Regions from separate parts of the Homo sapiens genome. Here all the other regions are linked to region 3. Evidence: promoter capture Hi-C in 16 types of primary human blood cells and fetal thymus (Javierre and others, 2016). All regions are on one chromosome and are shown on one strand. The core of a region is centred on a gene start or on the middle of the fragment in contact, and the rest is flanking DNA. Distances in the headings are between cores, read along the strand shown.

The links. Contacts are between HindIII fragments. The CHiCAGO score rates a contact against its expected background, and 5 or more counts as called.
Region 1: a contact is called between a fragment that was not itself captured here and the fragment with the promoter of ACRBP in region 3, in 2 of 17 cell types (naive CD4 T cells and total CD4 T cells). The highest score is 5.3, in naive CD4 T cells.
Region 2: a fragment that was not itself captured here is called in contact with the fragment with the promoter of ACRBP in region 3 in 3 of 17 cell types (non-activated CD4 T cells, activated CD4 T cells and naive CD8 T cells); the score reaches 6.4 in non-activated CD4 T cells.
Region 4: a fragment that was not itself captured here is called in contact with the fragment with the promoter of ACRBP in region 3 in 4 of 17 cell types (non-activated CD4 T cells, naive CD8 T cells, activated CD4 T cells and 1 more); the score reaches 7.3 in non-activated CD4 T cells.
Region 5: a fragment that was not itself captured here is called in contact with the fragment with the promoter of ACRBP in region 3 in 4 of 17 cell types (non-activated CD4 T cells, total CD4 T cells, total B cells and 1 more); the score reaches 6.0 in non-activated CD4 T cells.
Region 6: the fragment with the promoter of GNB3 here is called in contact with the fragment with the promoter of ACRBP in region 3 in 14 of 17 cell types (activated CD4 T cells, naive CD4 T cells, non-activated CD4 T cells and 11 more); the score reaches 19.4 in activated CD4 T cells.
Region 7: a contact is called between a fragment that was not itself captured here and the fragment with the promoter of ACRBP in region 3, in 1 of 17 cell types (non-activated CD4 T cells). The highest score is 5.2, in non-activated CD4 T cells.

The regions. Positions count from the first base shown.
Region 1 is chr12:6,413,672-6,417,001 of GRCh38, forward strand. No RefSeq gene overlaps it. Among named protein-coding and RNA genes, the nearest start is that of CD27, 30 kb to the right of the region's middle. The HindIII fragment of the contact is 2,514 bases long and covers 411-2,924 here.
Region 2 is chr12:6,884,186-6,887,698 of GRCh38, forward strand. All of the region lies in intron 1 of LOC105369632 (a long non-coding RNA gene), which reads right to left. It also overlaps the pseudogene RPL13P5 and the pseudogene DSTNP2. Among named protein-coding and RNA genes, the nearest start is that of SPSB2, 13 kb to the left of the region's middle. RefSeq lists enhancers at 1-322, 1,969-2,516. The HindIII fragment of the contact is 559 bases long and covers 972-1,530 here.
Region 3 is chr12:6,645,917-6,649,216 of GRCh38, forward strand. ACRBP (acrosin binding protein) reads right to left here and starts at 1,516. Exons shown (of 10, transcript NM_032489.3): 1 at 1,408-1,516; 2 at 878-1,096; 3 at 567-661. The coding sequence starts at 1,450. RefSeq lists enhancers at 937-1,450, 1,374-1,443. The HindIII fragment of the contact is 16,958 bases long and covers 1-3,300 here.
Region 4 is chr12:6,391,366-6,394,707 of GRCh38, forward strand. It overlaps LTBR (lymphotoxin beta receptor), which reads left to right. Exons shown (of 10, transcript NM_002342.3): 10 at 1-201. Among named protein-coding and RNA genes, the nearest start is that of LTBR, 8.9 kb to the left of the region's middle. RefSeq lists an enhancer at 1-108. The HindIII fragment of the contact is 2,950 bases long and covers 1-2,915 here.
Region 5 is chr12:6,474,036-6,477,390 of GRCh38, forward strand. No RefSeq gene overlaps it. Among named protein-coding and RNA genes, the nearest start is that of VAMP1, 5.0 kb to the left of the region's middle. The HindIII fragment of the contact is 6,710 bases long and covers 1-3,355 here.
Region 6 is chr12:6,838,874-6,842,521 of GRCh38, forward strand. It overlaps GNB3 (G protein subunit beta 3), which reads left to right and starts at 2,052. Exons shown (of 10, transcript NM_002075.4): 1 at 2,052-2,160; 2 at 2,385-2,471; 3 at 2,713-2,751. The coding sequence starts at 2,415. P3H3 (prolyl 3-hydroxylase 3) reads left to right here. Exons shown (of 15, transcript NM_014262.5): 14 at 127-267; 15 at 424-974. The coding sequence ends at 588. The HindIII fragment of the contact is 12,557 bases long and covers 1-3,648 here.
Region 7 is chr12:6,446,174-6,449,556 of GRCh38, forward strand. All of the region lies in intron 2 of CD27 (CD27 molecule), which reads left to right. CD27-AS1 (CD27 antisense RNA 1) reads right to left here. Exons shown (of 6, transcript NR_015382.2): 2 at 2,467-2,564; 3 at 1,864-1,977; 4 at 788-914. Among named protein-coding and RNA genes, the nearest start is that of CD27, 2.9 kb to the left of the region's middle. RefSeq lists an enhancer at 1-62. The HindIII fragment of the contact is 2,383 bases long and covers 943-3,325 here.

The DNA of each region.
Region 1 (3,330 bases), core at 418-2,917, 230 kb before region 3:
TTTTTTTTGAGATGGAGTTTCGCTTTTGTTGCCCAAGCTGGAGTGCAATGGTGTGATTTCGTCTCACTGCAACCTCCGCCTCCCAGGTTCAAGGGATTCTCCTGCCTCAGCCTCCCGAGTAGCTGAGATTACAGGTGCGCACCAAGATGCCCGGCTAATTTTTTGTATTTTTAGTAGAAATGGGGTTTCAGCATGTTAGCCAGGCTGGTCTCAACTCCTGACTTCAAGTGATCGACCAGCCTCGGCCTCCCAAAGTGCTGGGATTACAGGCATGAGCCACCGTGCCCGGTCCTCTCCTTTTAATTTCTATGGGCTCTGTGGTGATGTCCCCTCTTTCACTTCTGACATTAGTAATTTCTGTCTTGATTTTTTTCTTGGTTAGTCTCACTAGAGGCTTACCAATTTTATTAAGCTTTTCAAAGAACCAGTTGTTGGTTTTGTTGATTTTCTCTACTCATTTCCTGTTCTCAATTTTATTGCTTTCTGTTCTAATCGTTATATTTCTTCTCTTCTGCTTGCTTTGGATTTAGTTTACTCTTTTTTTTCTAGTTTCTAAGGTAGTTGATTGTATAATAAATCTTTCTTCTTTCCTACTATAATGCATGCAATGCTATAAATTTCCCTCTAAGCACTACTTTCGCTGTATCCCACAAATTTTGATAAGTTGTGTTTTCATTTTCATTAGTTCAAAATATTTTAAAATTTCTCTTGCGATTTCTTCTTTGACCCACGGGTTGTTTGAATCACATTGTTTAATTTCTAAGTATTTTGAGATTTTTCAGCTATCTTTCTGTTATTGATTTCTACTTTAATTCATTGTAGTTTGAGAGCAGGCATTGCATAATTTCTACTCTTTTAAATTTGTTAAGGTGTGCTTTATGGTCCACAGTGTGGTCTATCTTGGTGAATGTTCCATGTGACTGTAAGAAGAATGCATTGCTGAGTGAAGCAGTCTACAGATGTTCATTATATCCAGTTATTTATGGTGTTGCTGATTTCAACTACATCCTTAATGATTTTCTGCCTGCTGGATCTGTCCATTTCTGGAAGAAGGATGTTGAAGTCTCCATCTCTAATAGTGGATTCATCATTTCTCCTTGCAATTGTAACAATTTTTGCCTCATGTATTTTTGATGCTCTGTTATTAGGTGCAACACAGCAAGGATTATGTCTTCTTGCAGAATTGACCCCCTTATCATTATGTAATGCCCCTCTTTCTGCCTGATAATTTTGCTTACTCTGAAGTTTGCTCCATCTGAAACTAATGCCCCTCTTTCTGCCTGATAATTTTGCTTACTCTGAAATTTGCTCCATCTGAAATTAATATAGCTACGCCCACTGTTGTTTTTTTTTCCTTTTTTTTTTTTTTCAAGATGGAGTCTTGCTCTGTCTCCCAGAGCTGGAGTGCAATGGCGCAATCTCAGCTCACTGCAACCTCTGCCTCCCGGATTCAAGTAATTCTCCTGCCTCAGCCTCCCAAGAAGCTGGGATTACAGGCACACGCCACCAGCCCTGGCTAATTTTTGTATTTTTAGCAGAGATGGGGTTTCACCATGTTGGGCAGGCTGGTCTCGAACTCCTGACCTCATGATCCACCCGCCTCAGCCTCCCAAAGTGTTGGGATTACAGATGTGAGCCACTGCACCCAGCCCCACTATGTTTTAATTAATGCTAACTATATCTTTCTCCATCCACTCACTTTTGGTCTGTATGTGCCTTTATATTTAAAATGGGTTTATTGTAGACAACATATAGTTGGGGCTTTTTAAAAATTCATTCTGACAGTCTCTGTCTTTTAATTGATGCATTCAGACCCCACTGACATTCGAGGTGATTATTGACATAGTTGGATTCATACCTATCATATTTGTTACTGTTTTCTCATTGTTGCTCTTGTTTGTTCCTACTTTTATCTTCCGCTCTTTTTCTGGCTTTTGTAATTTTAAGTGAGCATTTGTATTATTCCATTTTCTCTCCTTGCTCTTAGCATATCAGCTATACTTGTTTTTTTTCCATTTCTTTTATTTTAGTGATTGCTCTGGAGTTTACAATATACAGTTAAAACTAATCCAAGTCTGCTTTCAAATAACACCATACTACTTCACATGTAGTGCAAGTACCTTATAATAACAAAATAATCCTAATTACTTCCCCCATCCTTTGTATTACTACCATCATTCATTTTACTTATGTGTAACATATATATATATGACCAAATACACGATGCTATTATTATTTTGAACAAACTATTGCCTGTTAGATCAATTAAGATCAAGAAAGGCCGGGTGCAGTGGCTCACTCCTGTAATCCCAGCACTTTGGGAGGTCGAGGCGAGTGAATCATTTGAGGTCAGGAGTTAAAGACCAGCCTGGCCAACATGGTGAAACCCTGTCTCTACTAAAAATTAAAAAAAAAAAAAAAATTGGCCAGGCATGGTGGTTCACACCTGTAATCATAGCACTTTGGGAGGCCAAGGCAGGCAGACTGCCTGAGCTCAGGCATTCAAGACCAGCCTGGGCAACATGGCGAAACCCCGTCTTTACTAAAAATACAAAAAATTAGCTGGGTGTGGTGGTGCACACCTGTAATTCCAGCTACTTGGGAGGCTGAGAGGGGAGAATCACTTGAACCTGGGAGGCAGAGGTTGTGCTGAGCCAAGATCGTGCCACTGCACTCCAGCCTGGACAGCACAGAGAGACTCTGTCTCAAAAACATAAAAAATAAAAATAAAAATAAAATTAGAGAGTCCAGAAAATTAAAACGAGAGAGTCCAGAAAATTCTCACAGCACTAAAGTCTTATAGGGAAATCAGTTCTTTCCTTCATCCTTCTAAGAGATTCACTCATAGGTTCACTAAGCACCTGCTGGCATCAGGTGCCATGCTAGGGACAGGAATGTCTGCGACATGATTCCTACCTTCAAGAAGCTTGTAGACTATTGAAACAAACAAACATTGATACAATGTGTAACAGCATATGAAGCACAAGTTCTATCACTTTTAATCCTCATTACAACTCGCCATTTCCTCCACTTTTCAGATGTGGAAACTCTTTGACCACAACCTTCAATTCTTGCTCAACCATTCCCACTATGCCTCAGCCCCTCGCTCAGGACTGCCAGTCCTCTGCCTCCTCTGCTTGGTTTGCAGGCATCAGCTCCTTCCATTTTCACTTCCCTTTCTGTCCATCTTACATCCTATAGTCCACTGTTTTTGTCACTTTTGTTGATACTATAAAGTCCCTTGCTTTTCTGAACTTTAATCACACCTTTATGGAAACATCCCGCTTCTGGATGAACTGAACTATTTCCTTCTTCACATTTGCAGTGAAT
Region 2 (3,513 bases), core at 1-2,500, 240 kb after region 3:
TACAAAGCACAAGCTGGCAGGGGCCTCAGCTTGGAGGAGTTAAGGGTGGCTGGCATTTACAAGAAGGTGGCCCAGACCATTGGCATCTCTGAGGATGCAAGGAGGAGGAACCAGTCCACCCAGGCCCTGCAGGCCAAGGTGCAGAGGCTGAAGGAGGACCGCTCCTCACTCATCCTCTTCCCCAGGAAGCCCTTGGCCCCCAAGAAGGGAGACAGTTCTGCTGAAGAACTCGAACTGGATACTCAGCTGACAGGACCAGAAATGCCCATCGGCAATGTCTACAAGGAGAAAGCCAGAGTCATCGCTGACTAGGAGGAAAACTTCCAGGCCTTGTTAGTCTCTGTATGGCCCATGCAAATGCCCAGCTCTTCGGCATATAGGCACAAAGAGCCAAGGAAGCTGTAGAAGAGGACGCTTAAAAAAAAAAAAAACGGGTAGGCTCGAGCCGCTGCATCAGCTTCGCGCTGGGTCTCTCGGTCCCGCAGCCATGAGGAGGACGCTGCCCAGACTCACTACCCGCCCTCTCAGTCCCGCAGCCACGAGGAGGACGCTGCCCAGACTCACTACCCGCCGGCTCCCTCCCCCGCGTCCCTGTGGTGGTGGGCGAAGATGACCTGTTGTGCATCAGATGCCTTTGAGACATACAACTGGAGATGTGAGATAGGAAATTGAATGTAAAGACTGGAAGCTCGGCAGAGCAGAACTCTGAACAACGTGCCTCAGGAGTGCAAGTTGCTGATGAAGTGTGTCGCATTTTTTATGACATGAGAGTTCGTAAATGCTCCACACCAGAAGAAATCAAGAAAAGAACAAAGGCTGTCATTTTTTTGTCTCAGTGCAGACAAAAAGTGCATCATGTAGAAGGCAAAGAGATCTTGGTTGGAGATGTTGGTGTAACTATAAGTGAGCCTTTCAAGCATTTTGTGGGAATGCTTCCTGAAAAAGATTGTTGCTATGCTTTGTATGATGCAAGCTTTGAAACAAAAGAATCCAGAAGAATTGATGTTTTCTTGTGGGCATCAGAACTAGCACCTTTGAAAAGTAAAATGATCTATACAAGCTCCAAGGATGCAATCAAAAAGAAATTTCAAGGCATAAAACATGAATGGCAAACAAACGGACCAGAAGATCTCAATCGGGCTTGTACTGCTGAAAAGTTAGGTGGATCCTTTTTTTTTTTTTTTGAGATGGAGTCTTGATCTGTCGCCCAGGCTGGAGTGCAGTGACAGGATCTCGGCTCACTGCAACCTCTGCCTCCCGGGTTCAAGTGATTTTCCTGCCCAGCCTCCTGAGTAGCTGGGATTATAGCGTGCGCCACCACACCTGGCTAATTTTTGTATTCTTAGTAGAGTCAGGGTTTCACCATATTGGTCAGGCTGGTCTCGAACTCCTGACCTCGTGATTTGCCCTCCTTGGCCTCCCAAAGTGCTGGGATTACAGGCGTGAGCCAGCATGCCTGGCCAGTGGATCCTTAATTGTAGCCTTTGAAGGATGCCCTGTGTAGATCATCATTCAGTGCCACAAATTGAAAGCTTCCACGTTTAATGTTATCCTCTTGCTATATAAATAAAGCAAATATATTTAGGCCAGGGTCTCACTGAGGGGAGCTGTCTTGTCATCTTTTAGAGTAAACTAAATACTCTATAAACATATGCAAACAGCCCTAAATATATCTGTAGGGGTGGGTTGCCCCTCCACACCTGTGGGTGTTTCTCGTAAGGTGGGACGAGAGACTTGGGAAAGAAAAAGACACAAAGTATAGAGAAAGAAATAAGGGGACCCGGGGAAGCAGCGTTCAGCATATGGAGGATCCTGCCAGCCTCTGAGTTCCCTTAGTATTTATTAATCATTTGTGGGTGTTTCTCGAAGAGGGGGATGTGTCAGGGTCACAAGACAATTGTGGGGAGAGGGTCAGCAGACAAACACGTGAACAAAGGTCTTTGCATCATAGACAATGTAAAGGATTAAGTGCTGTGCTTTTAGATATGCATACACATAAACATCTCAATGCTTTACAAAGCAGTATTGCTGCCCGCAGGTCCCACCTCCAGCCCTAAGGCGGTTTTTCCCTATCTCAGTAGATGGAGCATACAATCGGGTTTTATACCAAGACATTCCATTGCCCAGGGACAGGCAGGTGACAGATGCCTTCCTCTTGTCTCAACTGCAAGAGGCATTCCTTCCTCTTTTACTAATCCTCCTCAGCACAGAACCTTTACGGGTGTCGGGATGGGGGATGGTCAGGTCTTTCCCTTCCCACGAGGCCATATTTCAGACTATCATATGGGGAGAAACCTTGGACAATACCTGGCTTTCCTAGGCAGAGGTCCCTGCGGACTTCCGCAGTGTTTGTGTCCCTGGGTACTTGAGATTAGGGAGTGGTGATGACTCTTAAGGAGCATGCTGCCTTCAAGCATCTGTTTAACAAAGCACATCTTGCACCGCCCTTAATCCATTTAACTCTGAGTTGACACAGCACATGTTTCAGAGAGCACGGGGTTGGGGGTAAGGTTATAGATTAACAGAATCTCAAGGCAGAAGAATTTTTCTTAGTACAGAACAAAATGGAGTCTCCTATGTCTACTTCTTTCTACACAGACACAGTAACAATCTGATCTCTTTTGCTTTTCCCCACATATATCTAAAGTCTAAAGTTGTTTTTTTAAAAAAAAAAAAGAAAAGAAAAGAAAAGAAAAAAGAAAATAGCCAGGCGCGGTGCTCACGCCTGTAGTTCTAGCACTTTGGGAGGCGAAAGTGGGTGGATTGTTTGAGCTCAGGAGTCCAAGACCAGCCTGGGCATCACGGTGAAACCCCATCTCTACTTTAAATATACAAAAAATTAGCCAGGCATGGCGGCGTGTGCCTGTAGTCCTGGCTACGAGGGAGGCTGAGGCAGGAGAATTGCTTGACCCTGGGAGGCAGAGGTTGCAGTGAGCCGAGATTGTGCCACTGAACTCCAGCCTGGGCCACAGAGCAAGACTCTGTCTCAAAAAAAAAAAAGAAAAGAAAAGAAAAGAAAAAAAATAAAGCCCTGTTGAGGACTTGTAATATATCAGGAATAATGCAAAAAAAAAATTATTCAGACATTTTGCAGCATGAAACACTTCAGTAAATTTATGAAGCTTTAGTTTGGTCTTTTCCTTTTTCTCCTGAGGGTGATTTTTATCAGTTCCTCAAGATTTTTTATTAGTGTTTCTCTGTGGCTCTCAAAAACTTCTTTATTTTTATGATTATTTCCTTATATTTTAGAGACTGGGTCTTACTCTGTCACACAGGCTGGAGTGCAGTGGCGAAGTAGCTCACTGTCACCTTGAGCCATGATCAAGGGATCCTCGGCTTCAGTCCCTCAAAGTGCTGGGATTACTGGCATGAGCCACCATACCTGGCCAGGCCAAGAAGTTCTTTACTTTCTTCCTCAATGATGTATAAACAAAGCCATCACGATCCACTTGCTAGGCGACTTGCACAATGAGTTTCACTTCTTTGTCAATAGAAACCCTTGGCCAGGCGCGG
Region 3 (3,300 bases), core at 266-2,765:
CCCAAAGTGCTGGGATTACAGGCGTGAGCCACCGCACTCGTCCCTGTTGTTGTTTTTTTTTGAGACACAGTCTTGCTCTGCCACTCAGGATAGGGTGCAGTGGCATGATCTCGGCTTACTGCAACCTTTGCCTCCCGGGTTCAAGCAATTCTCCTGCCTCAGCCTCCCGAGTAGCTGGGATTACAGGCGCCCATCACCAAGCCCGGCTATTTTTTTTTTTTTTTTTTGTATTTTTAGTAGAAACGGGGTTTCACCATGTTGGCCAGGCTGGTCTCGAACTCCTGACTTCAGGTGATCTGCCCATCTCGGGCTCCCAAAGTGCTGAGATTACAGGCATGAGCCACCATGCCCAGTCTCTTCTCTACTTTTCTTGCAGTAACAGAATTGTTCAATCTGAATATCCAAGGTGAGACTGTATTCATATATAATCTGGGTAAATGACTGGCAAAATGGCAGGGAAGGAGGAGCTAAGGATGACTCTCCTGGAACCCTTCCTCAACTCCCCACTGCTGCCGCCTCTCCCTTGGCCCTGGGGCACCAAATCCAACCTTTGTCCTGGGCCTCACCTTGGCATAGTAGACGTGGTTGGAGCAACGGTAGTGAGTGAACTGGCAGAAAGACTCAAACCAGGAGGCATAAGGGAGGTTGGAGCAGACAGCACCTGAGAAAGGGCAGGGGTGGAGAAGATGAACCCGTGGGGAGCTTGGGGTGGGGCTGTGGGCAATGGACTCCACGCCATGGGGAGGGTGGAGAGTACGAGCTCATGGTGTGGTGCCAGCCATGCCCTTCCCCGCCTCACATGAGCACAGGGGTTTTTGCCCTGAGGTTTGGGTGAACACTCTGGGTGCCTCGGTTTCCCCCCTAGTCTGGCCCTCACCATCGGGCACTAAGCCGTGGTTTTCATATTGGTCCAGCTGGACGAGTGTGGGATTCCGGCAGCCGTGGGTTGCACGGAGACGGCAGGTAGTCTCTGCCTTCCAGGTTGGAGTCAGCAGTGCGAAGAAGCGTTCGTATTCGGTAGGAGAGAGAGGGCTGCCTGGAGTGGAGGCCTGAGTCGAATCCTGGGCTGCGGCAGGTGCCAGAGGCAGGAGCAGCACTGCGGAGCGGGCGAACGGATGATGGAAGGACCGAACCCCAAAACCCGCTCCGAGACCAGGACAGACAGACCCAGACTGGCAAATTAGGAACGGGGTGAGGGTTATCCCTGCTGACCAGGGCGGGGGGAGTCTAGAGACAGAGGCAAAGGTCCGGCCGCGGGCGGGGGGAGATGGGAGTATCCCAGGACCTAGGGAGCCGACCCAGCGCGACCACCATGAGGAAGCGATCCAGAAACCGTAAAAGCAGAGCTCTCGGGAGGGAGAGGACTAGCCCGGGGAGAGTCTGTTGGAGCAGGTGTAAACCTCTCACCCTTCAGGAGTGAGGGAAGGAAGCCAGCGGCTGGCTTCCTCATGGCCGGAGAAGATCCGCCCGCGTCCCGTGGACACAAGCCGCCTCTAACGGGCCAAGCCGCAGAGAGAGCCGCAGGCGCGGGGCGGGGCGCACGCGGGCACCGCCCACGCGTCACAAAGAGCGGGCCGGGGCGGGGCCTCGACAGCCGGGCTCTCAGGGCCCTAAAGTGGCCAGAGCCCATCCAGATGGTAGGAATGGCAAACAGCTACCTTCACTTAGCGTCTTTTTCTTTTTTTTTTGAGACGGAGTCCTACTCTGTCGCCCAGGCTGGAGTGCAGTGGTGCGATCTCGGCTCACTACAACCTCGGCGTCCCAGGTTCAAGTGATTCTCCTGCCTCAGCCTCCCGAGTAGCTGGGACTATAGGTGCACGCCACCACGCCCAGCTAATTTTTGTATTTTTAGTAGAGATGGTATTTCACCATGCTGGCCAGATGGTCTCGATCTCTTGACCTTGTGATCCGCCCACCTCGGCCTCCCAAAGTGCTGGGATTACAGGCGTGAGCCACCATGCCCGGCCTAATTTTTGTATTTTTAGTAGAGACTGGGTTTCACCATGTTGGCCAGGCTGGTCTTGAACTCCTGACTTCAAATGATCTGCCCACCTCGGCCTCCCAAAGTGCTGGGATTACAGGTGTGAGCCACCGTAGCCAGCCACTTAGCATCTTTACATGCACTACCTTACGTAATTGCCATAGGAATCCCATAAGGTAGATACACTATCATTCGTTTTACAGATGAGAAATCGGGGCTTAGGGAAGCAACTCGCCCAACAAACAGGTCGTGAGGTCTAGAGCTAAGCGCAGGCAGAGATAGAATGTGCAAAACCAAGTCAAGGCCTATCTGGGTAGGAACTAGACAGGGCGCCTCCATGAGCAAAATGGGTCCAAGGGGAAAACAAGAGGGTGGCTCAGTGGTCTACGAAAGTGGTTTCCAAGGGAGAATCGAGTAAGACAGTCCACTGAGGTATGGGAGGAGAACTTTTGCTTTTGTATCTGTTTTGTGTTTAAAATGAGAAATTCCAGCCTGGGCAACAGGGCGAAACCTCGTCTCTACAAAAAGTACAAAAAATTAGCCAAGCGTGGTGGCACGTGCCTGTAGTCCCAGTTTCTTGGGGGGCTGAGATGGGAGGATCGCTTGAGCCCATGAGGCCAAGGCTGCAGTGAGGTGCAATCGGGCCACTGCTCTCCAGCCTGGGTGACAAAGTGAGACCCTGTCCCCACCCAAAAGCAAAAGTAAAAAAGAAAAATAAAACAAGAAATTGTCTTGGGCCAGACTTGGTGGCTCACGCCTGTAATCCCAGCATTTGGGAAGTCAAGGCGGGTGGATTCCTTGAGCCCAGGAGTTCCAGACCAGCCTGGGCAACATGGCGAAACCCTGTCTCTACAAAAAATACAAAAATTGTCAGGTGTGGTGGTGTGCGCCTGTTGTCCCACTTACTACTTGGGGAGGCTGAGGTAGGAGGATCACCTGAGTCTTCAGAGGTCAAGGCTGCAGTGAGCTGAGATCTCACCACTGTGCTCCAGCCTGGGTGACAAAGTGAGACCCTGTCTCAAAAATAAAATAAAATAAAATAAATTAATAAAATAGAGACCAGGCACTGTGGCTCATTCCTGGAATTCCAGCACTTTGGGAGGCCAAGGAGGGTGGATCTCTTGAGGCCAGGAGTTTGAGACCAGCCTGGCCAAAATGGTGAAACTTGGCCGGTGCGATGGCTCATGCCTGTAATCCTAGCACTTTGGGAGACCAAGGCAGGCAGATCACGAGGTCAGGAGATCAAGACCATCCTAGCTAACACGGTGAAACCCTGTCTCTACTAAAAATACAAAAAATTAGCCAGGCGTGGTGGCATG
Region 4 (3,342 bases), core at 191-2,690, 250 kb before region 3:
TGGACTGAGGTAGACCCTGCATGAAGATGAAATTATAGGGAGGACGCTCCTTCCCTCCCCTCCTAGAGGAGAGGAAAGGGAGTCATTAACAACTAGGGGGTTGGGTAGGATTCCTAGGTATGGGGAAGAGTTTTGGAAGGGGAGGAAAATGGCAAGTGTATTTATATTGTAACCACATGCAAATAAAAAGAATGGGACCTAGATAATTTATTTTCTTGGGATTTATACAGAAACACTATTCCATGGAGACAATCTCAAAGACAAAGGTCAAGACACTAAAATATAATCCCATAAAGATATTTCAGTGAGGAGCTGGTGAGTATAGTCCAGGTAATAACAGTCTCGTCAGTGATGGCTGACAACGTGCCAGGCAGTGTTCTCAATGCTTTACAGTACTAACTTACTTAATCTTCACAATAACTCCCTAAGGTAGATATGATTCCCATTTAACAAATGAGGAAACTGAGGCACAGAGCGGTAACTTTCCCAATTCAGCTGCAAATGACAAAGCTGGGATTTGCACCTAGTTCGTCTGGCTTTTAGAGGCCTCTTGGGGAAAAAAAAGCCTTCATATACCACGCCCTTCCAGAATTTCTTTGAACGGGTAGAATGGTCTGGCCTTCTCAAATAATCAGATCTCTTGCATGTTCCGCAGGTGTTACTTTTCAGTCAACTCTCAAACATCTAGCCACACGCGAAGTGAAAAATGTTCTCCAAGGTTGATTGAAGGGAAATGTGTGCAATTTTTTTTTTTTTTTTTGAGACAGGATCTAATTCTGTCACTCAGGCTGTTGTGCAGTGGCACTATTATGGCTCATGGCAACCTTGAACTCCTGGCTCAAGGGATCCGCCCACCTCAGCCTCCCAAGTAGCTGGGGCTATAGGTGTGTGCCACGACGCCCAGCTAATTTTTTGTATTTTTAGTAGAGATCAGGTCTCCCTGTGTTGCCCAGGCTGGTCTCGAACTCCTGGGCTCAAGCAATCCTCCTGCCTTGGCCTCTGAACATGCAGTGATTACAGGCGTGAGAGCCACCGTGCCTGACCTGAGGTGTGCACTTTAGACATAAAATGAGAGAGGCCAAGTTCACATTTTGTTGGTGAACAGAAATCTAGGCTGGCCTCCTTTTGGTTCAGAAAGAGTATTTATGATTTTTACTTTTTTGGTTTCTTTTTGTCTTCTTTTATTTTTACCCCCAAAAAGGACTTTAAATCTTCTCAAGCCCTCTTATTAGTAAATGTTTGCCCCTCCCTGCCCCTGAATTCTCTCCTGTGCTCGGTCGAGAGGATCTTAGCTTGCAGGATTGTTAGGGAGCTGCTGCCAGCCGGCTGCTCCTTCCATAAAAGGCCACTCTCATGGGTCTGATATGAGGAACTCTGTCGCTGGAGCTCATCAGGGTGGGGCGGCTGCAAAACACACACCTCAGAAGGCGTCTGATCCAATGGAGTGGATGGGTCATTTAAGGTTGACTGTGAAAATATCACATCCAACTTCCTTTTTTGAAAAGTAAATAATGGTGAGCTGTATCTTTAAATAAAGTTAAATCCTCCTGCCCCTGCAATATGCTGGGGCCAGACCTCATGAATTCTTAATAATTGTTCTAATGTGTTTAGATAAAAAACAAATTTTATACATTTTTTTCAACAAAATAAAAGGAGGAAAATATTTTGAAAGAAATGATGCTGAAGCACAGCCCTTTGTGACACCATTCAAATTTATAATTATACCTGCCTGTATTTTTTTAGAGACAGGGTCTTACTGTGTCGCCCTGGCTTGAGTGCAGTGGTATAATCGTGGCTCATATAGCCTCAGCTCCTAGACTCAAATGATCTTCCTACCTCAGCCTCCCACGTAGCTAGAGCTACAGATGCGTGCCACCACACCTGGCTAATTTTTTTTTAATTTCTTTTTTAAGAAGTGGGGTCTTGCTATGTTGTCCAGGCTGGTCTCAAACTCCTGGGATCAAGTGATCCTCCCACCTCAGCCTCCCAAAGAGCTGAGATTGCAGGCATGAGCCACTGCACCTGGGCTGCCTAAATTAATTTTCTAGGGCCGCCATAACAAAGTACTGCAGACTCGATAGCTTAAGCTGCAGAGATTTATCTTCTCACAGCTCTGGAGGCTGGAAGTCAGAGGTCAACGTGTTGGCAAGGTTGGTGTCCTCTGAGGCCTCTGTCCTTGGCCTGCTAATGGTGGCCTTCCTGCCACCTATGTCTTCACATGGTCTTGCCTTTGTGCATGAGTGTGTCCTAATCTTCTCTTAGTGGATTAGGGCCCATCCTGATGACCTCATTTTAACTTAGTCACCTCTTTAAAGCCCCTGTCTCCAAATAAGGCCCCATTCTGAGGTCCTGGGAGTTAGGGCTTCAGCACGTGGATTTTGGAGGGAGACACAGTTCCACCCACAGCATTACCCATGTCTATTTTGCCAGTGTGGAGTCAGTACAGGCTCCAGGACACATCCACAGAGCACAGGCCACGTAGAGGGGAGCTCCTGTCTACAAGGAAAAGCTGGCAGAAAACCAACAAAGACAGCCTCTTGATGGTGGTCTTCAAAAGATGCAACAGGATGCAATGGCAGTTGACAATGGGGTAACTGTTGGTTGTGAGAACCCTAATCCTCTACCACAGGGAGGAGAAAGCTAACACCAAGTCCAACCCACATCAACACGGGGGTGGGACACCCGTTAGGGGGCCAAGGCTGTAGTCCAGAAGAAAGGTGGATGGAACTGGGGACAGAGCAGTAGCACAGGGAGATGGGGGAGGATGGGGTAATTCAGAATTTCCCTTTTTGAGAGTGGCATCAACACAATGTCAAAGTAGGAGTTCTCCGGCTTCTCTCCTCCCCAACAGAATTTCAACTAGCAACAATCCTGTGGCAAGTTTACCACCCTGAATATCCCAGAACTTGGAGTGAAGCTTTGCATCCCCTGGGATGGCAGAGCCAAGAAAAACCATGAGGACGGTAAGGGGATGGCTGCTTTCTGACCACGCCACTCCTCCCCAAGCCCGCACAGTGCCACACGCAGAGGAGTCCCTGGATGCTCGGTTTCTCCAGTGGACACAGTGGATGGGAGGTGGGCGTTCGGCTTCCCCACCAGTCTGAGACTTCACAGGAGACTCACTCTAGTCTTTTCCCGCAGGAAGCACTGTGAGTACCGGCAGGGTCAGCCCAACAAGGGTCAGTAAGAACTTCCCTTTTCAAAAGATAAAGCGGTTCACATAGACAGCTGTGGTGGACTCTTTCTGCTGCCTGTCCAACAGACTTCTGCACATTTCCTAAGGACAGAACCGCATTTTTGTACTAGAGCAGAGATTCCGTGACATCAGGAGAAGAGGCCCTT
Region 5 (3,355 bases), core at 256-2,755, 170 kb before region 3:
TGCAATTGTATCATGTGTAGATTTGTGTAACCACAACCACAGTTAGGATACAGCATTTTCACATTACTGCAAGGCTCCCATGTGCTACCCCTTTATATTCCAACCCACCGCCATCCCTAAACCTTAGCAACACTAATTTGTTCTCCATCTCTGTAACTTTATTTCAAGAGCCTTATGTAAATGTAGTCATGCTTTTTTCTATATCACGTAACCTTTCAAGATTGGCTTTTTTCATTCATCCAAGTTATTGTGTGTATCATTACTTTTTCAACCATCCAAGTTATTGTGTGTATCATTAGTTTTCACCACTGATTAATATTCCGTGGTACATTTAACCATTTACCTGCTGAAGGACATTTGGAGTGATTTCAGCACTGGGCTATTACAAATAAAGTTGCTGTGAACTTTCATACAGGTTTTGTGTGAACATAAATTCTCATTTCTCTGGGATAAATGCCTGAGTGCAATGCTTGGGCAGTAAGGTAATTGCATCTCTAGTTTTATAAGAAACTGCCTTTGCCTGTGTTGCCCAGGCTGGTCTTAAACTCCTGAGCTCAAGCAATTCTCCCACTTCAGCTTCCCAAGTAGCTAGGACTATAGGCATCATGCCCAGCTGTATTTTTCTTATTTTAACCATTCTAATATGTGTTCAGTGCTATCATTGTGGTTTTAATTCTTATTTCACTGATGGCTAATGATATCAAATATCTTTTAAAGTGTTTGCCTTGTATATATTATCCTATTTGATGAAATGTTGGTTCATGTCTTTTGGCCATTTTCTTTTTTTTTTTATTGATCATTCTTGGGTGTTTCTCGCAGAGGGGAATTTGGCAGGGTCATAGGACAATAGTGGAGGGAAGGTCAGCAGATAAACAAGTGAACAAAGGTCTCTGGTTTTCCTAGGCAGAGGACCCTGCGGCCTTCCGCAGTGTTTGTGTCCCTGGGTACTTGAGATTAGGAAGTGGTGATGACTCTTAAGGAGCATGCTGCCTTCAAGCATCTGTTTAACAAAGCACATCTTGCACCGCCCTTAATCCATTTAACCCTGAGTGGACACAGCACAGGCCGCAGAGAGCACAGGGCTGGGGGCAAGGTCACAGCTCAACAGCATCCCAAGGCAGAAGAACCCCTCCCAGTACAGAACAAAATGAAGTCTCCCAAGTCTACTTCTTTCTACACAGACACAGCAACAATCTGATTTCTCTATCTTTTCCCCACCTTTCCCCCTTTTCTATTCCACAAAACCGCCATCGTCATAATGGCCCGTTCTCAATGAGTTGTTGGGTACACCTCCCAGACGGGGTGGTGGCCGGGTAGAGGGGCTCCTCACTTCCCAGAAGGGGTGGCCGGGCAGAGGCGACCCCCACCTCCCTCCCGGACGGGGCGGCTGGCCGGGCGGGGGCTGACCCCCCACCTCCCTCCCGGACGGGGTGGCTGCCAGGCAGAGACGCTCCTCACCTCCTAGACGGGGTCACGGGCGGGCAGAGGCGCTCCCCACATCTCAGACGATGGGCGGCCGGGCAGAGACGCTCCTCACTTCCTAGACGGGATGGCGGCCGGGAAGAGGTGCTCCTCACTTCCCAGACTGGGCAGCCGGGCAGAGGGGCTCCTCACATCCCAGATGATGGGCGGCCAGGCGGAGACGCTCCTCACTTCTCAGACAGGGTGGCTGCCGGGCGGAGGGGCTCCTCACTTCTCAGATGGGGCAGCTGCCGGGCGGAGGGGCTCCTCACTTCTCAGACGGGGCAGCCAGGCAGAGACGCTCCTCACCTCCTAGACGGGGTCACGGCCAGGCAGAGGCGCTCCCCAAATCTCAGACGATGGGCGGCCGGGCAGAGACGCTCCTCACTTCCTAGACGGGATGGCGGCCGGGAAGAGGTGCTCCTCACTTCCCAGACTGGGCAGCCGGGCAGAGGGGCTCCTCACATCCCAGACGATGGGCGGCCAGGCGGAGACGCTCCTCACTTCCCAGACGGGGTGGCGGCTGGGCAGAGGCTGCAATCTCGGCACTTTGGGAGGCCAAGGCAGGCGGCTGGGAGGTGGAGGTTGTAGCTAGCCGAGATCATGCCACTGCACTCCAGCCTGGGCAACATTGAGCACTGAGTGAACAAGACTTGGTCTGCAATCCCGGCACCTCGCGAGGCCTTCTGAGTAGCTGGTACTACGGGCGCCTGCCACCATGCCTGGCTAATTTTTGTATTTTTAGTAGAGACGGGGTTTCACCATATTGGCCAGGCTGATCTCGAACTCCTGACCTCAGATGATCTGCCAGCCTCAGCCTCCCAAAGTGCGGGATTACAGGCGCGAGTCTTGTATTTCTTTTAAAATCAATCTCACACACACCCTTTTTTCTCCCTCTCCCTCACATATCCTGTTTTCTCTTTTTAGACATCGGACTATTAATTAGATATTGGACTATTTGGCTTAATTTTCTAATTATCTTTCTTATTTCCTGTCTCCATCTCTGCTGGTTCTTGTTCTTGGTGCCTTGTTCCTTATTTGTTTGGAATTTTTGACCACAATTTATTTTTCTTGGAACTGTATCTGTGGAAATTCCCCGAGGCCTAGATTAAAGATGAGTTCATCCAGAAAGGATCTGCATTGCTTCTGCTGGGTTCTTGGTGGTACTGTCAATCCAAAACCACTTTAAATTCTTGCCATTTTCTTTTTAGGATCAACAAAGAGTTCAGGCAGAAACACCACAGCCTGTGGTTATACATTCTCTGCAAATACTTAAAAGAAAAAAATAAAAGAACTCCAGCAGGCACCTGGGTTCCAGACAAACAACATTCCACGGAGTGCTCTGGGGCAGTTTGGGTTCTAGTATATTCGTAATTCATTCTTAGATGAGGATATAGTCCTTTGGGGTTCTGACTTTATGGTAAGGACTTTCTATTAGATTTCCAACCTTGGGTAAGCCCTGGGCTTTATTTCCTGTGCCACAGTGGTAGCCTGTGAGGCTGCTACGCTCATATTAAACTTTATAGCAAATACCCTCAGAGCAAAATAGTCTTTGGGACTCAGCAACTTCCCTGGTTACTGGCTTTCACTTAGTTTTTCGTGTTTAAATAGTCTTTACTCTCAGGCCAACTCATAAATAGATTTTATCTATAGAAGAACAAAGAAGAATAAAATAGGAGGAATAACTATCTCATGCTTACTACTATATAGTTGCAGTAATCAAGACAGTGTGGTATTGGTGGGAGGACAGACACATAGATCGATGGCACCGATGAGAGAATGCAGAAATAGACCCCTACAAATATGCGCATCTGATTTTTTTTTTTTTTTTTTTGAGACAGAGTCTTGCTCTGTCGCCAGGCTGGAGTGCAGTCATGCAATCTCGGCTCACTGC
Region 6 (3,648 bases), core at 802-3,301, 190 kb after region 3:
AGTAGGAAGTGGTAGCGAGAGAGCTGATCCTCTCTGTGCCCCTGTCCCCATCCTGCTCTAGGGAGTGAGGGCCAAGTTCTCTGAGAGAGCCAATCCCTGGAGCTGAACCTGCCCTCATCCCTCCAGGCTCGGGTGCGTCCTCGCTGTGGGCGCCTTGTGGCCTTCAGCTCCGGTGTCGAGAATCCCCATGGGGTGTGGGCCGTGACTCGGGGACGGCGCTGTGCCCTGGCACTGTGGCACACGTGGGCACCTGAGCACAGGGAGCAGGTAAGGAGCGGGGTAGGAAGGGATGTGGTTCTCCTGGTGCGTGAAGGGTGGGCAAGGAGCCCCCGAGAAGGCTCACAGTCGGTGAGGGTCAGGGGCTGAGCTGACCCAGGGAAGGTGGGTGCAGGGAATGGGCCACACTCTCCTCCCCAACCCCAGGAGTGGATAGAAGCCAAAGAACTGCTGCAGGAGTCACAGGAGGAGGAGGAAGAGGAAGAGGAAGAAATGCCCAGCAAAGACCCTTCCCCAGAGCCCCCTAGCCGCAGGCACCAGAGGGTCCAAGACAAGACTGGAAGGGCACCTCGGGTTCGGGAGGAGCTGTGAGTGGCTGAGCCAGCTCCTTGAGGATGTGGCCACTTGACTTGTGGAAGGCCATCTTGATGCCAGGACACACAGGAAGCCCCTGTGTGACATCAGGAGCAGAACAGCAAGCTCTCTGTCCCTGCACCCCCACCATCTTGGGGACCTACAAGGGCCTGGACTCAGAGGACAGTGCACAGGCTAGCCTGGAGCTCACCAGGCCTGGGGAGCTGGGACGGGGCCCCGCTGCCGGACCTGCAGCCCTGGACAGATGGGGAACACTGTGCCTCCCTGAACAGAAATGGCAGGGGAGGAGGCTGATGCTTTAAATGAAGAGGATGGTGGGGTTGGGAGGTATAACCCTGCTCCTCTCTCCCAGTCTGTGCAATAAAGGTCGTGAAGATCTCTCAGCCAGGGGCCAGTCAAGTGTATCACAGATTCTGTGATGGCTGGAGGTGGGGGTGGCTCTGGCTGGCCTGGGAGGAGACAGGTGTCTTTGGGCCTCCCAGAGGCGGGGCGCCTGGAGCCTGTGATTTGTCAGGGAAATCTCAGCCACCTGCTCCCCTCATGCAAATGACCCAAGCCCCTGGCAGCTGCTCCTTAGGCCTCCAAGTGTAAGCCCTGTCTTCCCTCTCTGAGCTTTGCTGAGACTTAGGGCCGCCTGCTTTCTCTCTGACCCCTGCTTTCACAGCCTCGAGAGGGCAAGGAGGGGGCCAGACCCCAGCCTGGGAGCAGCGTGCGGGCCTTCCCTCCACTTGAAATCCGTTGCCCGCCCACAATAGGGGCAGACCTGTCCATCCTTCTCTGTGGGTCCCCTGTACCTTTCTCCCCCAACAGGATCAGACCCAGAGGCAGCTGGTTGGGGTTTGTCGAGAAGAAGGATTATCCAGATCAGTCCTTTCTAATCTCAGCTCCTGCCTGTACCCTCCCATACTCACCAAACCCTCTTCCCCACCACCCTGAGCTGAGGAGCACAGTTTGAGGTACTGACAATGGGGCCATCTATCACCCTTATATCCCACCTCCTGGCCTGGTTGCTAAGTGGCCCTGACTGCCAAGATCATCACCATGGATGGGGGCCGGGACCAGGGGGGCCACTGGAGCTGTAGTTGTCTGCTCCTTTGCACCCCTCCCAAACCCCAACCCTTAATCCTCACAGCTTTGCTCTAATCCTGTGGGGCCTGATGCTCTTATCTCTGCCTGCAGAGACTGACCAGGGAAGCACCCCTTCACCCCCTCCTCTCTCAGGGCTTGTGGTGGGGGCTGCCCCTCTCTATGGCCCCACACTCCTGCCCCCAACCCTCCTCCCGGCTGGGCCCAAGTCTCTCTGGAATCCGTACACCTCCCTCCCTCCCCCCACCCCTTCCCCCCACCCCTGCCAGCTGATTTCATTTGCCTGACGTTGTGGTTGGCTCTACCCTTCCCTGTCAGGCCCCCCCAACCCCCCGCCGGTCGGGGCCAGGCCAGGCCAGGCCAGCTCCTCTGGCAGCAGAGCCTGGGCAGGTGACGGGCGGGCGCGGGCGTCGCAGCTGAGGGAGTAAGGAGGCTCCCAGGAACCGGAGCTGGAAACCCGGCCGAGGTCCAGCCAGAGCCCAAGTAAGAGGGAGCTGGCCTGGGCTCTGCTCTCCTGGGCTGGGGCGCAGGCAGGGCTCAGGCAGGCTGGGGCTGGACGCAAAGGACCTCAAACTTGGAGGGCCTAGCTGGGGAGAGGGTGCAGCCACCCAGTCGTTTCCCTGTGTCTTGGAGTCTGGTGTGGGCACGAAGGGCAGAAGCACAGCCTGGTGGGGGGTTCCTCAACACCGACCCCATGTTCCTGGCAGGAGCCAGAGTGACCCCTCGACCTGTCAGCCATGGGGGAGATGGAGCAACTGCGTCAGGAAGCGGAGCAGCTCAAGAAGCAGATTGCAGTAACTCCAGAGCCCTACCCCTGGGGCCCCAGAAAACAGCTGGGGACATGAGGAGCGTGGCCCAGGGGGAGGGGGCTGGGTTTGCTCTTGAGTGACTAGAAGTGACCAGGGACTTTCTAAACTTGGTTCGCATATTTGAGACCCCCAAGCCCCAGAGCCCCAAGACCAACCTGCCCTGAAGGCCCATGCACCTGCCACCCCCACCTCGCCCTTGCTCCCCTGATGTCTGCTTTCCCTGCAGGATGCCAGGAAAGCCTGTGCTGACGTTACTCTGGCAGAGGTAAGACCCCCTGTCCCCCGGAAGGCAGGGCATGGGGGGAGGGGAAGGGAGCTCCCCGACCCGCAATAGCGCGTTGCTCCGAGCATTAGTACAGCACGTCCTTGGAGTGAGGAAACCCATTAATTAATTCATTCGACCAACATTTTAGCGGGACCTGCTCTGAGCCAGGCACCATATTGGATGCGAAAGATGCGGACACGGTTCCTATTCTCATCCGTAGAACAAGAGTGACCACAGCCCCCTCCCAGGGCCTTGAAGATGAAGAAGCGATAGTACTTTGTAAATTATAAAGCCCTTGTAGACTCTAGCTGCTAGTTTTCTATGCTGTATTTTGTCAATTCTAAGATGCACATTTCTTCACATTTTGACATCTCTGAAATCAAGGTGCATTCAGCAATGGATCATTGTTTCAATTAGAATTGACAGCATCTTTTCTTTCTTAGTGATGCATCTTAGATTGGATTAAATATGTTAATAGTGAACACTTTTTATGAGCCAGATACTGGGCTAAGCTGCATAAATACCTGATTTCATTGAATTTTCATGATATCTCTGTAAGGTAGGTGCTATGATAAGCCTCATTTTACACCTTGAGTAAACAGACTCAGGGAGGTGAAGCAACTTGCCCAAGATAACAAAGCAGGCCGGGCGCAGTGGTTCACGCCTGTAATCCCAGCCCTTTGGGAGACTGACGTGAAAGGATCACTTGAGCTCAGGAGTTTGAGACCAGCCTGGGCAACATAGTGAGATCTCTTCTTAATATAAAAAAAATTGCTTTTAACTTTTTAAAAAAAGATAGCAATGCAAGTGATGGCAAATCAAGTCTGTTCACTCTGGACCCCCAGCCTAAGTCTAAAATGTGGTTAGAGCTCAAGGGGCATAGTACCACAGATTTCA
Region 7 (3,383 bases), core at 884-3,383, 200 kb before region 3:
AGGCTTTAAAGTGGCCCCTTTGAACAAATGTTCTCTAGCAAGACACTTTTTAGAACCAGGTAACTGTAACTATTAAACTACCTACTTGCAAAACGTGTTTGGTGTCACTGGGTCTCTTGGTACTGGGTTTTGTTTTGTTTAGTTTAGAGACAAGGTCTAGCTCTGTCACCCAGGCTGGAGTGCAGTGGTGCAATCATAGCTCCCCACAGCCTTGAACTCCTGGGCTCAAGCAATCTTCTAGTCTCAGCCTCTGAAAGTGCCAGGATTACAGGTGTGAGCTGTAGTGCCTGGTCCCGTAAAAACAAAAACAAAAACCAACACCAGATGTGGTGGCTCATGCCTATAATCCCAGCACTTGGGAGGCCAAGGCAGAAGGGTATTTGCATATTTTGTAGAGACTTGAGCCCAGGAGCTTGAGACCAGCTGGGCAACATAGTGAGACCTTGTCTCTAAAAAAATTGGCTGGTCATGGTAGTGCACCTGCAGTCCCAGCTACTTGGGAGGCTGAGATGGGAAGATCACTTGAGCCCAAGAGGTCCCCAAGAGGTCCAGGCTGCTCACATCACTGCACTCCAGCCTGGGTAACAGAGCAAAACCCTTTTTCACACACACACACACACACACACAAAAAGCCAGAGCAGTGGCTCACACTTGTAATCCCAGCACTTTAGGAGGCCAAGGCAGGCGGATCCCTTGAGCCCAGGAGTTTAAGAACACCCTGGGCAACATGGCAAAACCCTGTCTCTACTAAAAATACAAAAAGTTAGCCAGGCGTGGTGGCACGAACCTGTAGTCCCAGCTACTCAGAAGGCTGAAGTGAGAAGATCACTTGAGTCCAGGAAGTGGAGGCTGCAGTGAGCCGTGACTGTACCACTGCACTCCAGCTTGGGAGACAGAGTGAGCAGAGTGAGACCCTGTTTCCAAAAAAAAAAAGAAAACAAAAGCTTTTCCATTGCAAATCAACCAAAAAGGAACGTCTTTAATACACAAGAAATATTCTTCAGTCTACTTAACTTAAAAATGTAACTGTAATAGATGCTTTTCTCTTGACAGCGGCCCCGGCAGGGTTGGAACTTTTCCTAGTCAAAACCCCCCTACTCACTCTGCAGACCCTTCCTGAAGGTCTTCGCCCCATACTGAGCCCATCTTCAGTCCCTTCACTTGTTCCAAACTAGCCCAATCCATGACCCTTCTCTGGGAGCTCAGCCAATAGATCCCAAAGTACCACAGCAGCACCTGGCTGCAGAAGGACCCCCGGGAAATGCAGTCAGGGGTGAGAAGATGGGTGGGCTGAATGAGCTCGGCCCTCTCTGGGCCTTAGTGCTGGCATCTATGAGATGAGGACATGCCTGAAGTCAGCCTGGAATTTTGAGCCCAGGTTATACCTGGTAAATAGAACTCCCAGGTCTCCGGATACTCACCACTAAAACAATAGCACCTCATTGTTTTTGTTTTGTTTTGTTTTGTTTTTTAATTATACTTTAAGTTCTAGGGTACATGTACACAATGTGCAGGTTTGTTACATAGGTATACATGTGCCATGTTGGTGTGCTGCACCCATTAACTCATCATTTACATTAGGTATATCTCCTAATGCTATCCCTCCTCCCTCCCCACACCCCACGACAGGCCCCAGTGTGTGATGTTCCCCTTCCTGTGTCCAAGTGTTCTCATTGTTCAATTCCCACCTACGAGTGAGAACACATTGTTTTTAACCCTCCCCAGCAGCTTCTTTAACCCCTCCATTTCCCTTTTGGCGGAGACCCTTGTCATCACTCCTCTCTACCACCAGTGCTCTCCCCTCCTGCACTGTCCCAGGCTTCCTCATTCTTCCCTTGCAGGTCCTTATCCAACATGGCTCACAATTCCTGGGAAGCCACAAGGAAACCAAATTCTAGTAGCAACTCAGAGTCAGCATTCATTAGCAGGTCACAGGGCCATAAGGATGCCAAGAAGGAATTTGTCCCTCTCCTTGTCCTGACAAAAGGCATAAGTAGAAGAAAATTGTTAGGTTTGGTTATGACCTTTGACATTCTCTCTTTGACATCCTCCCTTTCTGCACCCCTCTTCCACCTGTCAGGGCACCTAGGGCTCCCCGGGTCCCCACAAGTGTCTGCCCTAAGGCCCACCAGGCTTTCTTGCAGCCTGTCCCACATCTGGGTGTCACTGCCTTCCTCTGAATCACCCTCCTCTCAAACCAGCCGCCAGCGAGCCCAGCCCAGCCCAGCTAGTGCCCTACCACACCCGCCCCCAGGATAATTAACACCCAGCCACCCAGCATCGGACCTCTACACTTGAGCAAAATGTATATTTTAAAGGCAAATTCTCACGCCTGTAATCCCAGCACTTTGGGAGGCCAAGGCGGGCGGATCACGAGGTCAGGAGATTGAGACCATCCTGGCTAACACGGTGAAACCCCGTCTCTACTAAAAATACAAAAAATTAGCCAGGTGTGGTGGCACACACCTGTAATCCCAGCTACTAGGGAGGCTGAGGCAGGAGAATCACTTGAACTCAGGAGGCGGAGGTTGCACTGAGCCGAGATCGTGCCACTGCACTCCAACCTGGGCGACAAAGCAAGACTCTGTCAAAAAACAAACAAACAAAATAAAGGCTAAGTAACTGTAATCAAGTAACTATTTATTATTTATTTATTTTAGTGTATCCACAGGTTGTGCAGCCATCAACACTATCTAATTCTATAACATTTTCGTTACCCCAGAGAAACTTGTACCCCTTAGCAATGACTCCCCATTTCTTCCCCCCAACCAACCCCAGCCCCAGCCCCAGCCCCTGGGAATCCCTAATATACTTTGTTTTGTTTTTTGTTGGTGGTGTTTGAGACAGGATCTCACTCTGTCACCCAGGCTGGAGCGCAGTATCATGATCTCAGCTCACTGTAACCTCCACCTCCCGGGCTCAAGCGATCCTCCCACCTCAGCCTCCCCAGTAGCTTGGGCCTACAGGTGTGCACCACCACACCCAGCTAATTTTTGTATTTTTTGTAGAGACGGGGTTTCACCATGTTGGCCAGGCTGGTCTCAAACTCCTGAGCTCAAGCAATCCACCCACCTCAACCTCCCAAAGTGCTGGGATTACAGGCGTAAGCCACTGCACCTGGCTATTTTCTTTCTTTCTTTTCTTTTTTTTTTTTTTTTGAGACGGAGTTTCACTCTGTTGCCCAGGCTGGAGTGCAGTGGCGTGATCTCGGCTCACTGCAACTTCCACCTCCCGGGTTCAAGCAATTCCCTGCCTCACCCGGCTATTTTATATTTGTTGATCTGCTGCTGGTTATGCCTGTGAGCCAAATTTGTACAAATTCTTAAGCTTTACAATCATGCGTGCCTCTCTGTACGTATATTATACTTTAATTAAAAGTTATT